Regions from separate parts of the Homo sapiens genome. Here regions 2 and 3 are each linked to region 1. Evidence: promoter capture Hi-C in human tissues and cell types (Jung and others, 2019). All regions are on one chromosome and are shown on one strand. The core of a region is centred on a gene start or on the middle of the fragment in contact, and the rest is flanking DNA. Distances in the headings are between cores, read along the strand shown. Region 1 holds the start of ATP6V0C (ATPase H+ transporting V0 subunit c). Region 2 holds the start of CCNF (cyclin F). Region 3 has its middle 16 kb from the start of CCNF.

Region 1 (3,986 bases), core at 1,475-3,974:
GAGGTCTCCATCTCCTGACTCGTGATCCACCCGCCTCGGCCTCCCAAAATGTTGGGATTATAGGCACCCCGCCAACTGAGGTGCATTTCTTAAGTAGGGAGTGAGGAAGAGAGTTGGTGCAGACACAGGTGATGCAGACACGTTGGGGGGCTGGTGATGAGAAGCGGGAGGGGACCAGGGAGGGCTCTTGAGGGGCCGAAGGATTCCAGGATGGAAAGTGCCCTTTGGAAAGAACCTGTGGCTTTAAGGTGAAGACTCGGTTGATTGGGGGTAGGCGATGAGAAGACCTAGGCCAGGCAGCGGCAGGGGCAGGGGCGCGGGCGCGGACACAAGCTGGGGAGGCAGGATCTCGGGATCCTGAGTAATACAGAGTGGGGAGGGAGCAGTGGCGTGACGTCAGGCTGCGGGGGGATGGGCGTGCCTTCTGCGGGAATGGAAATAGCCCAGTGGAAGGTGGTGGTGAAGGGGTGGGGGCGAGCTCAGCTTCAGACACGCCAGCTTGAAGTGTCAGGAGCCACACTGGAGACCCGGTGTGACCTCTCACACTAGAACTTAGGCAGAAAATGAATGGGTAAGAGGCCAGTGAGCACAGCTGACCCACTCCCTGCTCCTGCAAGAGGGAAGTCTCTCCACGTCCCCATGTCCCCAGTCCTGGTGTTTCAGCCACAATGGAGTTAGGTGCTCTTTGCCCACCCTACAATGTTTTGTTTGAGACGAGGTCTCACTTTGTTGCCCAGGCTGGTCTTAAACTCCTGGGATCAAGCAATCCTCCTGCCTCGGCCTCCCACAGTGCTGGGATTACAGGCGGGAGCCACCGTGCCCAGCCCACCCCTGAGCTTGGACTGTGCTGTTTCTCCATGGTGGGCTGCTCTGCGCCACCTTTCCTTGGTCTGAATTCGGCCCCAGGCACAGCCTTCCTGGCCTAGGCTTTCCTGGAGGGCTTGGAGTTATGGGGGCAGGCACTGGTGTTGCTCTCACTCAGAGGGCGGTCGGGGCTGGAATGGTGCAGGTGAGGGACAAGACGGCGTAAGATGGGGGACAAAGCCAGGGAAAGGATGGGATCAAGCAGGGGAAGGGCAGAGCTAGGGGTAGCCCTGGGTATGCCAGGACCTGCAGCAAAATTGGGGCTACAGGGCCTTGTGACTCCAGGAAGAATGAGGGCGTCTGAGATTTAGGAAGTCCGCAGGAGAGAGGAGAGTGTGTGGAGAGGGTGGCAGGCCACGCAGCACAGAGGTCCACTTGGACAGCCTGACAGATGTCCTTCTGCTTAGAGAAATGGCGGTCACCAGTGACCTTGGCAAGGGCAAGGAGCTGGAGAGGGAAGGGCAGGTGAGGAGGTGGAGACAGAGTGAAGATTCGTCTTCTCAGAAACAAGGGCCGGGCAAGAAAGAGGGAGGAGCAGAAAGGGCCTCTGGCCGTATCTGTTGCCTCCTCTCCTTTGAACCAGGACAGACTTAGGGACTTTCACGGGCTGCAAGTTCCAAGAGTGGCAGACCCAGGCTAGCCTGGGGAAGGGGCTTGAGGGAGGCTCCTGCTGGGGAAGGTGGGGCTGAGTCCAGCAGGAGGGCCAGACCAGGGGCCATGACCCCATTGCCTACATAGAGAAGGTGATGAGCCAGCATCCAGGCTACTCAGGGAGAGCTCTAACCCAGGATGAGGCCTTAGAGCTCAAAGGACACTCAGGCCTGGTGGCAGCTGCCCAGGGCCCCTGAAAGGGGGAATGGAGATCAGGCAGAGGGGGTGCCAGGGACTGCCACACAGGATCAGTAGGGCAGCGCCAGCCCTGGCTGGGCTGCTTTCACGGCTGCGGGAACCGCTCCAACTGCTCCAGAAAGACAGAAAGATGGCCCTGAAGGTGCAGGCTTTGCGTGAGTGGGTGGCTGCAAGGACAGGTGGGAGGACCAGGACGCCAGAACGTGCAGAGCCCGGGGGGCCTCCAGAGGTCGCAGTTCCGACAGGGCTTCCACCAGTCATGCCTACATCTTGAGGGGCAGAGACACACCCCACTAATGTTTGGGTCCCTGATGCAAAGGCAGAGACAGGTGCGGGGAGGGGGTCCTTTTTCTCCGAAGCGAGAGGTGAAGTCACCAACTGCTGGGTCAGAGGCAGTAGGTCTGGGTCTGGAGGAGACTGGGGACAGGGTGGAGGGAGGTGACCGCAGCCACGGGCTGGGACTTCACAGGTGTGGGCTGGGGGCTTTTCCGGACGCTGTGGCAGAGGAGGCCCGCGCGCCGCACATCTGCTGGGACCCTTAGCTCGCCCAGGATTGGTAGGGAGATCCTGGAAGACCAGCGCCCGGAGGGGTGAGGCCCCGTCTTGGGGGCAAGGCCGCGAAACCACGGCCTGCAGCTTCACGCCAGGGGTACAAAGAAAAGCGTCGCCGGGAACCCAACACCTGCAGACGACGCGCAGCCGCAGAGGAGGCGGGGCGTCCGAGGCCCCGCCCCGTATGCTAATGAAGCACACACCACACCGCCCCGCCCCGGCGCGAGACCGGTCCAACGCTGCGGAGATCCAGAGGCCGGCGGCGCCCGGAAACACCCGCGGAGGCCGAGGCAGGGCGGGGCCGGGCGCCGGGGCCGGGTCGCTGGGCGGGCGGCACAGCCCGGGGGAGGTCAACGGGCCGGCCGGGCGTCCCGGGGACGCGTCTCCCCCACGGTGCGAAGTGGTACGGCTCGCAGGGGCGGGGCCCAGGTCATGTGACGCGGCCGCGGCCGCCATTTTGTTCTGCGGTGCTGGTATTTAGAGCGCAGCGGCTGACGGGCCGGATCGCCTTCGCCGCCGCCCGCCCGCAAACCTTCGTGCCCGGCCCGTCCTCGCCCCCGCCTCCGCCACCGCCTCGGCCCGCAGAGCTTGCCCCCTCCCCACCCGCAGACATGTCCGAGTCCAAGAGCGGCCCCGAGTATGCTTCGTTTTTCGCCGTCATGGGCGCCTCGGCCGCCATGGTCTTCAGCGGTGAGCGCGGCGGCGGGAGGGACTCGGGGGCGGGGGCGCGCGCGTTGCTCATGCCCGCAGCTCGCCGGGGTCCGGTGTGTGACGTCACTCTGACGTAATCCCGAGCTGTCGGGGGCGCCCGGGCCTCGTGTGACAGCGGGCGGGGGTCGGCGCCCCGAGGGCTGCGGGGAGCCGCCGGGGGTCCGGGGCGCAGGGCGTGCGGGCCTGGCCGGGGTGTGAGTCTCGGGGGTCCGGGCCGGCGGCCCTGCCAGCCGGGTCGTGCGGTTGCGGGGGTGGGGCGGCGGCGCCGCTGCCATATTAGCCCCGGGAGCGGCGAGAGGGAGGCTGGGGTGGGGGCGCGAGGGGGGCGGCGCGAGGGGGGCCGATTCTGCGGGCAGGTGACATCACACCTCGAAGGCCCCAGTGCGCGGGCGGCGGCGCGGGTCCGGCCCAGGAACGCCCAGCCGGTCGCTGGAGCTTTCCGGCTGGTGGGGAGCCCATGTCCCCCACGGGAGGTCCTCAGCCCTCGCCCTTATGGCGGCCGGCCCCGAGGGTCAGGTGGGTCTCACCCACAGGCAGGTACTTCCGGTTGGAGCTGGTTACAGTTGCCCAATACCCGTGTCGCTGTGTGGGCTGTTTGGGAAAGCTGGGCTGAGGGCTTGGTTCGGAGAGCCCGCGGAGACCCGGGTGGGAGTGTGTGGAAGTGGAGGGAGCGGGGAGACAGCAGCATCGGCGCTGGCGGGGCTGTGTAGCTTGCAGAGGGTCTGTGCTCTGAGGTGGGTGAGAGGGTGGCATGGGTGTCCGAGTTTATGGGATCCAGTCGTTGCCCTCAGGACTGAGGCTTCCAGTTGTGGTCCTAATGAATGGAGGGGTGAATGAATGACCTTCCTTTCCCTCCCTGAGGCCTGAAGTTGGGAGGGGCTTCCCTGGGCTTGGAGAAGGGGCCTTCTAGGGTTCTTGGTGGCACCCTGCTTTTGAAATTGGGCCTTGACAGGTCCTGGGCGTCCAATTTAGTGACAATTGGTCTCCCTGGGAGAATGGCACTTGGGCTA
Region 2 (4,425 bases), core at 648-3,147, 85 kb before region 1:
TCTCTCCCCTGCCCCTCACTACCCATAACGTTTTCAACCGACACCTCATTCCACCAGGAATTTCCCTGAGCTCCTAACAGTTTAGACTTTTCCAACAAGGTCTCACCTTCCTGAAGCCCAGTGGGAAACGGGCCCACACCCTGGAGGAGCCACTTATCACCCCAGGGCAGCCCTGGAGGCTCCCACTGCCAGTGCAGGGTGTGGGGCGAGAGCAGGCATGGCTGCAGTCAAGACAACTCCTGCTCCCTGAAAAAGAAATTTGCCTGTCCATGTTGAAAGGAGAGTGATCAGGACACAAAGCACAGGATAGAGCTAAACAACAACCTAGGGACCAAGGATGCTGTTCTAGATTCTAGAGGCAGCTGGTGTGGCTAATGTGCTCATGGCTGGCTCTAGTTGATTAATCCCTTCAAGATGCTATGGAAGCTAACCCTGAAAGTGCACCTCTGCCCTAGGGGGAGACAGGTAACAGTGACAAAGTAGGAAACAGTAACCCAGGAGGACAAAAGTGAGATAAGGGGATAATAAATCTGGGGGCTGAGAACATGGGACATCTGGGGAGCAGGCCCCAAACTCGCTCAGCCTGTCCTCTCTTCACCCTCCTTCACCCGCTTCCTGATTCCGGGACAGGGAATATTCCCAACTTCCAGACCCTCTCTGGGGCCACGGACTCTTCTGTACCCTGTGCTGTGATCACCTGTTTACTCTGTCTCTTGCCCCAGGCCGGCTGAAGCCTGCACGCCAGGGCTCCTGTCTGTGTGCCCAGGGCAGGCCCAGTACTTGAAGGAGTTCTATGGGGACCCGGAAGGATGGAAGGGTGCAGACTGAGGGAAGCGTGAGGGAGGGGTGGGCAGCCTTGGCCCAGGCCCCTGCCTTCCCCAGGAAAAGCCCCCTCTGTCCTCCACCAGACAGTCAGGAGGCTGCGAGTCTTCCCCTTGACAGCCTGTGCCGTAAAAGGGGTGCGGTGTGGCTGACTCCTGAAGGACAGCTCAGATGGGCACTGCCCAAGACAAGAGTGAGCAGATACGACACTTCCCGCGGCGAGCAGCTCCAGGTAGCAGCCGAGGAGGCCAGACAGGGGGCAGCATCTGGCCAAAGTGATGGGGAGGGCTTGCCCCGGGGCTGGAGCACTGAGGCGTCCAGGGTGCGCCACGTTTCGCGGGAAGAAGGGGTCAGCGTTCCGCGGGGGAGACTTCCCAGCGTCAGCTCCGACCTCCTCTTTCTCTACCACGATCCCGGCCAGCATCCCCGCCCAGCAGCGGCTCAGCCACAAACCCAAGGGTCTCCACCTGAAGCAGGCGGCGGAAGGGAAGGCCGTGCAAGCTGGGGGTGAGGGTCGCGGGCCCAGGAGCGACCCCGGGACCCGGGCAGGGCACGGCCTCGTCTTAGAAGCGCCACGTCGAGGCTGTCCCAGGCTGGATCACGGCCGCGACTGCGAGGGACGCCAAGGAGTCCTCTTTCCCCTGGCCGCAGGCGTGCGCCTTCGCAGCCCATCTGGCACCGCAGATGCCGGTCGCCGGGGTCAGCGGCGAAGCCCGAACCCATGCGGCCGGGAGGGGACGCCCACAAACCCCTGCCCGCCGGCCGGGAAGCGCTCCTACGGGACCCCAGCCCCGTTGGGGAGGCGGGGCGGCCACGCGGGTTCCACCAATCAGCGGCCAATGTTCGAATTCGCGTCCTGGCGCGGCCAATGGCGGGTCCCGGAGCAGGCGGGGAGGGCGTGGAGGGCGGTAAATGAGGCGAGCACAGGGCGGGACATGGGCGGGGCCGGCGGCGGCCCCCCCGGGCAGGCCAATGGGAGGGCCGGGTGCGTTTGAAAACTGGGGTGGGCGGCGGGGCGGGGTCTGCGCCTGCGCGAGGGCTACGCGCGCTCCGGCCGGGGCGCGGGCGCGCTCTCAGGCGGGCTCCGGCGGCAGCGACGCGAGCGCGGCGATGGGGAGCGGCGGCGGTGAGTGCGGGGCGATGTCCGCTGGTTTCTGCCCCACACCCCTTCTGCCTGCCCTGCGGGGCGGACGGTGGGTCCCGCGGGAGGGGAGGCCCTGGCGGCCTGAAGAGGGCTGGCTCGAGCTCTTTAACCCGGGGCGGATGTCGCGTCCCGCGCAGGGAGCCCCGGCGGCCGGGCGCGCGGTTTAAATGCCCGGCGGGCGCCCGAGCCCCTCGGAGCCTTCCCCCGCGGCGACGTTTTCCGGCCCTTTCCTGGGGCAACGATCGGGTCCCGGGGCAGCGATCCGGCGATCGGGTCCCGGGGCGGCGATCGGGTCTCGGGGAGCCAAACACCAGCGCCTCCTGGTCGGGGAAAGGGCTGCGGAGCGCGTGGGGGCGAAGCGATCCCGCAGCCCGGCCGGGCCCTGACCGAGCCTCAGTCCAGCGGGGCCGTGGACCTAGCTCTGTGGAAAGCAGCGTTCGGCCCCGCGCGCGTTGAGGCACAGGAAACACGAACTGTGGTTTCAGCTATTATCATAGTATCTGTCCTGGAGCCGGAGAATGAGGAATATTTTATGGAGAGGTCTATAGAATCTTTGAGAATTCGTCGCCCTGGAATACGTTTGGCTTTTGCAGCTGATTTAATTGCTAACAGGAAGACCCCGGTCAAGAGAGGGGAGCCGGGAGCAATCGCTAGGAAGTCCTAGCAAGGCGGGGAGGGATTTGGGCCCACAGAGGGGAGTGGCGCTTCCTTTCAGGACTGGAAGGAAGGATGGATAGAAAGGTAGATTTGTAGATGGGGAGGCAGGATCCTGAGGTTCCTGTCTGAGGGCTTCTGTTTCCCTGTGAAATAAGGGCTAAGGTCATCTGCTTAGAGTGAGGAAGGGGTTGCTGGAGTAGGAGTTGGAAAATCCGGCTGTGGGAAGAGGAGAGAGCACATCTGAGAAGCATGTCCGGGCTGCCTGCCTGGTGGGTGGAATGCCCGTCTCACCTTTAATGATTGCATCTGTACACAAACCTACAGGTCTAGGTTTGTGTTGGGACCTGAGCAACAACCTTACTGCGTAGCTGTCAACTCCGCATTCTACAATAGAGGGCACACTGAGACTCTGCAGAGCTGAGACTTGGACGCACACTGCCCCGGCCTCCAAGTCTGTGGCTTCTCTCCAGGGCCGACCCTTCTAATTTGGACTTGAAAACCAGACTCTTCAAGCCCACAGATCTTTATTGAACATTATGCACCTTGGTCACGTGTGCAAAAAGCAAAGCTATCCAGCAAAGGCCCCAGGAGTTTTCCTGAGAGTGAAATAGAAGGAAAACCGTCCTCAGCTTCGGCAGCTTTTTCCCCTTCCTGCCTGTCATGTGGGCTCTGGATCAGAAAGTTTCCCAATAGCCAAGTTACATGACATGCGCTATTTGCCATAAATATTTGTTGAATATTTGAAAATGAATGATCTCTTCTGTAATTTGTGCAATGCCACTCCTTTACATAATCTTTGTTTGGGACAAGAAGCATAGTTCCATCTTTTGTGGCACAGGGAATAGTAACCATTAGATCATCTTCAGATGTAACTTTTATCCTTTTTTTTTCCCTTCAAGGGTGTGTATATAGAATAATTTTTCATCTTATCAAGGCTTCTGTCTTTTTTTCCTTCAGTGGTCCACTGTAGGTGTGCCAAGTGTTTCTGTTATCCTACAAAGCGAAGAATAAGGAGGAGGCCCCGAAACCTGACCATCTTGAGTCTCCCCGAAGATGTGCTCTTTCACATCCTGAAATGGCTTTCTGTAGAGGACATCCTGGCCGTCCGAGCTGTAAGTCCCTGCATGAAAACACTATGAGCCCTAGCATTGTTGATTATACCATCAGGCCTTGTGTTCTTAACTGTCAGAACAAAACTTTGGCTAAAAAAGAGGTTGGGGCAGAGGCCAGGCACGGTGGCTCATGCCTTAATCCTAGCACTTTGGGAGGCCGAAGGGGGGTGGATCACCTGAGGTCAGGAGTTCCAGACCAGCCTGGCCAACTTGGCAAAACCCCCATCTCTACTAAAAATACAAAAATTAGCCGGGCGTGGTGTCTCACGCCTGTAATCCCAGCTACTAGGGAGGCTGAGGCGGGAAAATTGCTTGAACCTGGGAGGCAGAGCTTGCAGTGAGCCGAGATCACATCATTGCACTCCAGCCTGGGCGACAGAGCGAGACTCTGTCTCAAAAAAAAAAAAAAAAAAAGGAGGGCAAAAAGGAAACAAGGATGATATCATTACCAGATGCTTTCTTTAAGACATTCTGATTACAGAAATTCCTACTGCTGTCTCCTAGCACACTAAAATTGCCTCTGTTCATTGCAGTGTCAACAAAGAAAGTACCTTTTTTTTTTTTGAGACAGAGTCTCGCTCTGCCACCCAGGCTGGAGTGCAGTAGCGCAATCTCGGCTCACTGCAAGTTCCGCCTCCCAGGTTCATGCCATTCTCCTACCTCAGCCTTCCGAGTAGCTGGGACTACAGG
Region 3 (4,281 bases), core at 391-2,890, 100 kb before region 1:
CCCTCTGCTTTTAACTTGGGAGTCATTCTGTCTCCTAAGGGACTCTTGGTGATAGTTTTATCTCCACAAACTATAGAGGCAGGAACTGCATCCTCCTTATCATCTGGAAGATGACACTCAAACAACTTGGGAGCCGGCAATTCACCCCTGCTATCTGGACGCAGATCACCTGTAAACCTCATTTCCCTCTGCCCTCAGCTCCCCCACCTCCGCAGATGCAGCCCATGCTGCGGCTGTGCTCCTGATTTTCCCACACACACCGTGTTCTTGCAGATCCTCCCGCGTGAACAATTGGAAAGAAGTAAAGTGACAGATTCGAGGAGCATAGCAGAAGAAAGATACTTAGGTCTTAGAGGTTGAATGACTATAGAGGAAGAGGAGTCAGGGAGAACCAGTTTTCTGGTCTGGAGGCCTGGGAGTCTGATGTTGTAATGATGGATATACAATAACGTGGGTTAGGATAGATAATAGAAGATATGCCCTTTTCTTCCTGCAAGCAGAGTTAATATTTTCTATTCTCTTCGCATAGCTAGGCTATGCAACAATCTCAAAATCCTTGGATTATACATTCCTAATACTTCCAGGGCACTGCCTGGGGATGGCTTTCACCAACTTATATTACAACTCTGAACTACAGAGGTTTTGCAGTGTCAAGAACCTGAGTGATATTGAGTGTAATGAAGTCTGTGAGTATTGTAAATGGAATTTGTTAATTACATTTTTGTTGAAACATAATTCATATAAAATATGCCCTTTTAAAGCTTACAAGTCAGTAATCTGTCATGAGATAAGAGTTTTTTTAAAAAGAATAAAATTTACAAGTCAGTGGTTTTTGGTATATGCAGAGTAACCTTCCCCACTATCTAATTCTAGAAAATTTTCATCACTCCAAAAGGAAACCCTATACCCATTAACAGTCACTCCCCATTCCCTTCTTCCCCCAGCCCCTCGCAATCACTAATCTGCTTCCTGCTGTTATGAATTTGCTTGTTCTGGATATTTCACATAAATGGAATAATACAATGTGTGAGCTTTGTGTCTGTCTGCTTGTACTTAGAATAATGTTTTCAAGGTTCATCCATGTTGTAAGAGGTGTCAGTGCTCCATCCCTTTGCGTAGCTGAATGTTAGTCCATTGTATGGTTTCACCACAATTTATCTTTTCATCTGTTGATGGACATGTGGGTTGTTTCTGCTTTTGCTATTACGAATAACAGTATTATAAACATTTGGATATGAGTTTTTATGTGAACATGTTTTCAGTTCTCTTGGGTATATACCAAGACTATATTTGCTAGGTCATATGGTAACTGTGTTTAGCATTTTGAGGAACTACAAAACTGTTTTCTACATTAGCTGAACCATTTTACATTCCTACCAGCAAAGTCTGAGGATTCCAGTTTGTCCACATCCTCTCCAACGCTTTAAAAAATTATTTACTTTTTAAATTATAGTACAATATACATAGCATGAAATTTCATTTATCAATTTTTTTTCTTTTTTCTTTTTTTTTTTTTTTTTTTAGACGGAGTCTTACTCTGTCTCCCAGGCTGGAGTGCAGTGGTGCAGTCTCAGCTCTCACTGCAACCTCTGCCTTTTGGGTTCAAGCGATTCTCCTGCCTCAGCCTCCTGAGTAGCTGGGATTACAGGCATGCACCACTGTGCCTGACCTCCTTTCAACATTTCTTATAGGGCAGGTCTGGTGGTAATTTTATGCCCCCTTTTCCAACATTTTTAAATTCCTTTTAAAAATTGTATTATAAAGCCATGTACAGTGGCATGCATCTGTAGTCCCAGCTGTTCAATCTGTAGTCCCAGCTGAAGTGGGAGGATCGCTTGAGTCTAGGAGCTTGAAGCCAGCTTGGGCAACATAGCAAGACCCCATCTCTTTTTAAAAAAAATTATTATAGCTATTCTAATGAGTATAAATTAGTATCACATTGTGGTTTTGGTCTTTGTTTTCCTAATGACTAATGATGTTGAGCATCTTTTCATGTGCTTATTGGCTATTTGTATATCTTCTTGGGAGAGCTATTTAGTCAAATCCCTCCTCCATTTTTAATTAGGTTATTTGTCTTTTTTCTTTTTATCAGGAAGTTGTAAAAATTTTTTTTTTTTTTTTTTTTTTTTTTTGGACAGGTCTTACTCTGTCATCCAGGCTGGAGTGTAATGGCATAATCACGGCTTACTGCAGACTCGACCTCCTGGGCTCAAACCATCTTCCCACCTCAGCTTCCTGTGTAGCTGGGACTACGGGTGCATGCCACTGTGCCCGGCTAATTTTTTAATTTTTTGTAGAGACAGTAGTCTCACTATGTTGCCCAGGCTGGTCTCGAACTCCTGGCCTCAAGCAATCCTCCTACCTCGGCCTCTCAAAATGCTTGCAGGCATAAGCCACCACACCCAGCCAATAATTCTTTACAAAGTTGGATACTAGACCTTGTCAAATATATCATTTTCAAATATTTCCTCCTATATTGCAGGTTGTCTTTTCACTTTCTTGACAGTGTCCCTTGATGAACAAAAGCTTTTAATTATGAAATTATGACAAAGACCAATTTATCTATTCTTTTCTCTTTTGTGTTTTTGATTTAAGAAATTATTGCCTTATGCAAGATAGGGAAGTTTTACCTCTACATTTTCTTCTAAGAGTTTTAGCTTTTTTTTTTTTTTTTTTTTTTTGAGATGGAGTCTTGCTCTGTCACCCAGGCTGGAGTGCAGTGGCGGGATCTTGGCTCACTGCAAGCTCCACCTCACGGGTTCACACCATTCTCCAGCCTCAGCCTCCTGAGTAGCTGCGACTACCGAGTAGCAGGCACCTGCCTGCTACTACGCCCATCTAATTTTGTTTTTGTATTCTTAGTAGAGACGGGATTTCACCATGTTAGCCAGGATGGTCTCGATCTCCTGACCTCGTGATCCGCCTGCGTCGGCCTCCCAAAGTGCTGGGATTACAGGCATGAGCCACTGCGCCCGGCTGAGTTTTAGCTCTTACATTTAGGCCTTTGATTCATTTTAATTTTTTATATGGTGTTAGGTAGAGATCCAAATTCATTCTTTTGCATATATGTGTAATTGTCCCAGTGCCATTTGTTGAAAAGACAAAAGTTTCTGTTTTGGTGGAAGATTTTTAACTACAAATTCAATTTCTTTTCTTTTTTTTTTTTTTTTTTGAGATGGAGTCTTGCTCTGTCACCCAGTCTAGAGTGCAGTAGCACAATCTCAGCTCACTGCAACCTCCACCTCCTGGTTCAAGCAATTCTCCTGCCTCAACCTCCCAAGTAGCTGGGATTTCAGGCGCATGCCACCATGACTGGTGAATAGTTTTTCCTTTTTTTTAGAGGTAAGGTTTCACTTTTTCCCTGGAACTGCAGGCAGGTGCCACCATGCCAGTCTAATTTTTGTATTTTAGTAGAGATGGGGGTCTTGCTATTTTGCCTAGGCTGGTCTCAAACTTCCAGGTTCACGTGATTCTCCTATAGATTCCCCAGAAAAGAGCAGCAAACAGACTTGGCCTCTGTCCAAAGGGAGGGTGCCTTCGGGGGCTGCTGGAGCAGCATGTTCCCTGATAATCAGTGCTGGTGGGTGGTAGAGAACAATGTAACCACCTGCTAGGGGACAGTCAGGATTCCTGTGGCCACATGCCCAGCACAGACTTTCAAACAACCTTTGGGCCCCTCCCCTCATTTTTTTTTTTTAAGAAAGAAGGTCTTGCTCTGTTGCCCAGGCTGGAGTGCAGTGGTGCAATTATGGCTCACTGCAGCCTAGAACTCCTGGACTCAACCAGTCCTCCCACCTCAGCCTCCTGAATAGCTGGAACTATACAGGTGCACACCACCGTGCCTGGCTCAGAAGTATAGTTTTCTACCTTTATGATGTGGAAGACCCTCCAGAGCTTGCCATGAAACCCAGAAACGACAAAGTAGTATATAATATTTAAATACATAAACATTCAAGTCTATATAAGAAAAGACACATTAACTGATGTTAAATAACGGAAATACTTGACACATACATAAAGGACAAAGACACATACATATATATACATACACACATATATATATATCTCCATCATATAAATCAGTGAGAAAATATGAACAATTTGTTAGTAAAAAATGGGCTGAAGAAATAAATGGGCTATTCATAGAAGAAAAAACATCCAGTGCCTAATAACCATATGAAAATATGCCTAATTTTACCTAAGGATTTATAGACAGATAATATCTAGTATTATCAACAGAATCGGAAATAGGCATCCCCATAGGCTATTGGTAAGATCAAG

Evidence for each region. Contacts are between HindIII fragments. The study calls those that stand out against the background at their distance.
Region 2: the fragment with the promoter of CCNF here is called in contact with the fragment with the promoter of ATP6V0C in region 1 in 8 of the 25 tissues and cell types used here (H1 embryonic stem cells, IMR-90 fibroblasts, dorsolateral prefrontal cortex and 5 more).
Region 3: a contact is called between a fragment that was not itself captured here and the fragment with the promoter of ATP6V0C in region 1, in 4 of the 25 tissues and cell types used here (dorsolateral prefrontal cortex, lymphoblastoid cells, mesenchymal stem cells and 1 more).

The regions. Positions count from the first base shown.
Region 1 is chr16:2,511,228-2,515,213 of GRCh38, forward strand. It overlaps ATP6V0C (ATPase H+ transporting V0 subunit c), which reads left to right and starts at 2,725. Exons shown (of 3, transcript NM_001694.4): 1 at 2,725-2,955. The coding sequence starts at 2,877. RefSeq lists enhancers at 1-450, 1,241-1,535 and silencers at 2,441-2,920, 3,341-3,480. The HindIII fragment of the contact is 15,008 bases long and covers 1-3,986 here.
Region 2 is chr16:2,427,550-2,431,974 of GRCh38, forward strand. CCNF (cyclin F) reads left to right here and starts at 1,898. Exons shown (of 17, transcript NM_001761.3): 1 at 1,898-1,948; 2 at 3,581-3,735. The coding sequence starts at 1,933. RefSeq lists enhancers at 959-1,538, 974-1,153 and silencers at 1,364-2,213, 2,224-2,273. The HindIII fragment of the contact is 14,340 bases long and covers 1-4,425 here.
Region 3 is chr16:2,411,734-2,416,014 of GRCh38, forward strand. It overlaps the pseudogene ABCA17P. Among named protein-coding and RNA genes, the nearest start is that of CCNF, 16 kb to the right of the region's middle. The HindIII fragment of the contact is 3,526 bases long and covers 1-3,403 here.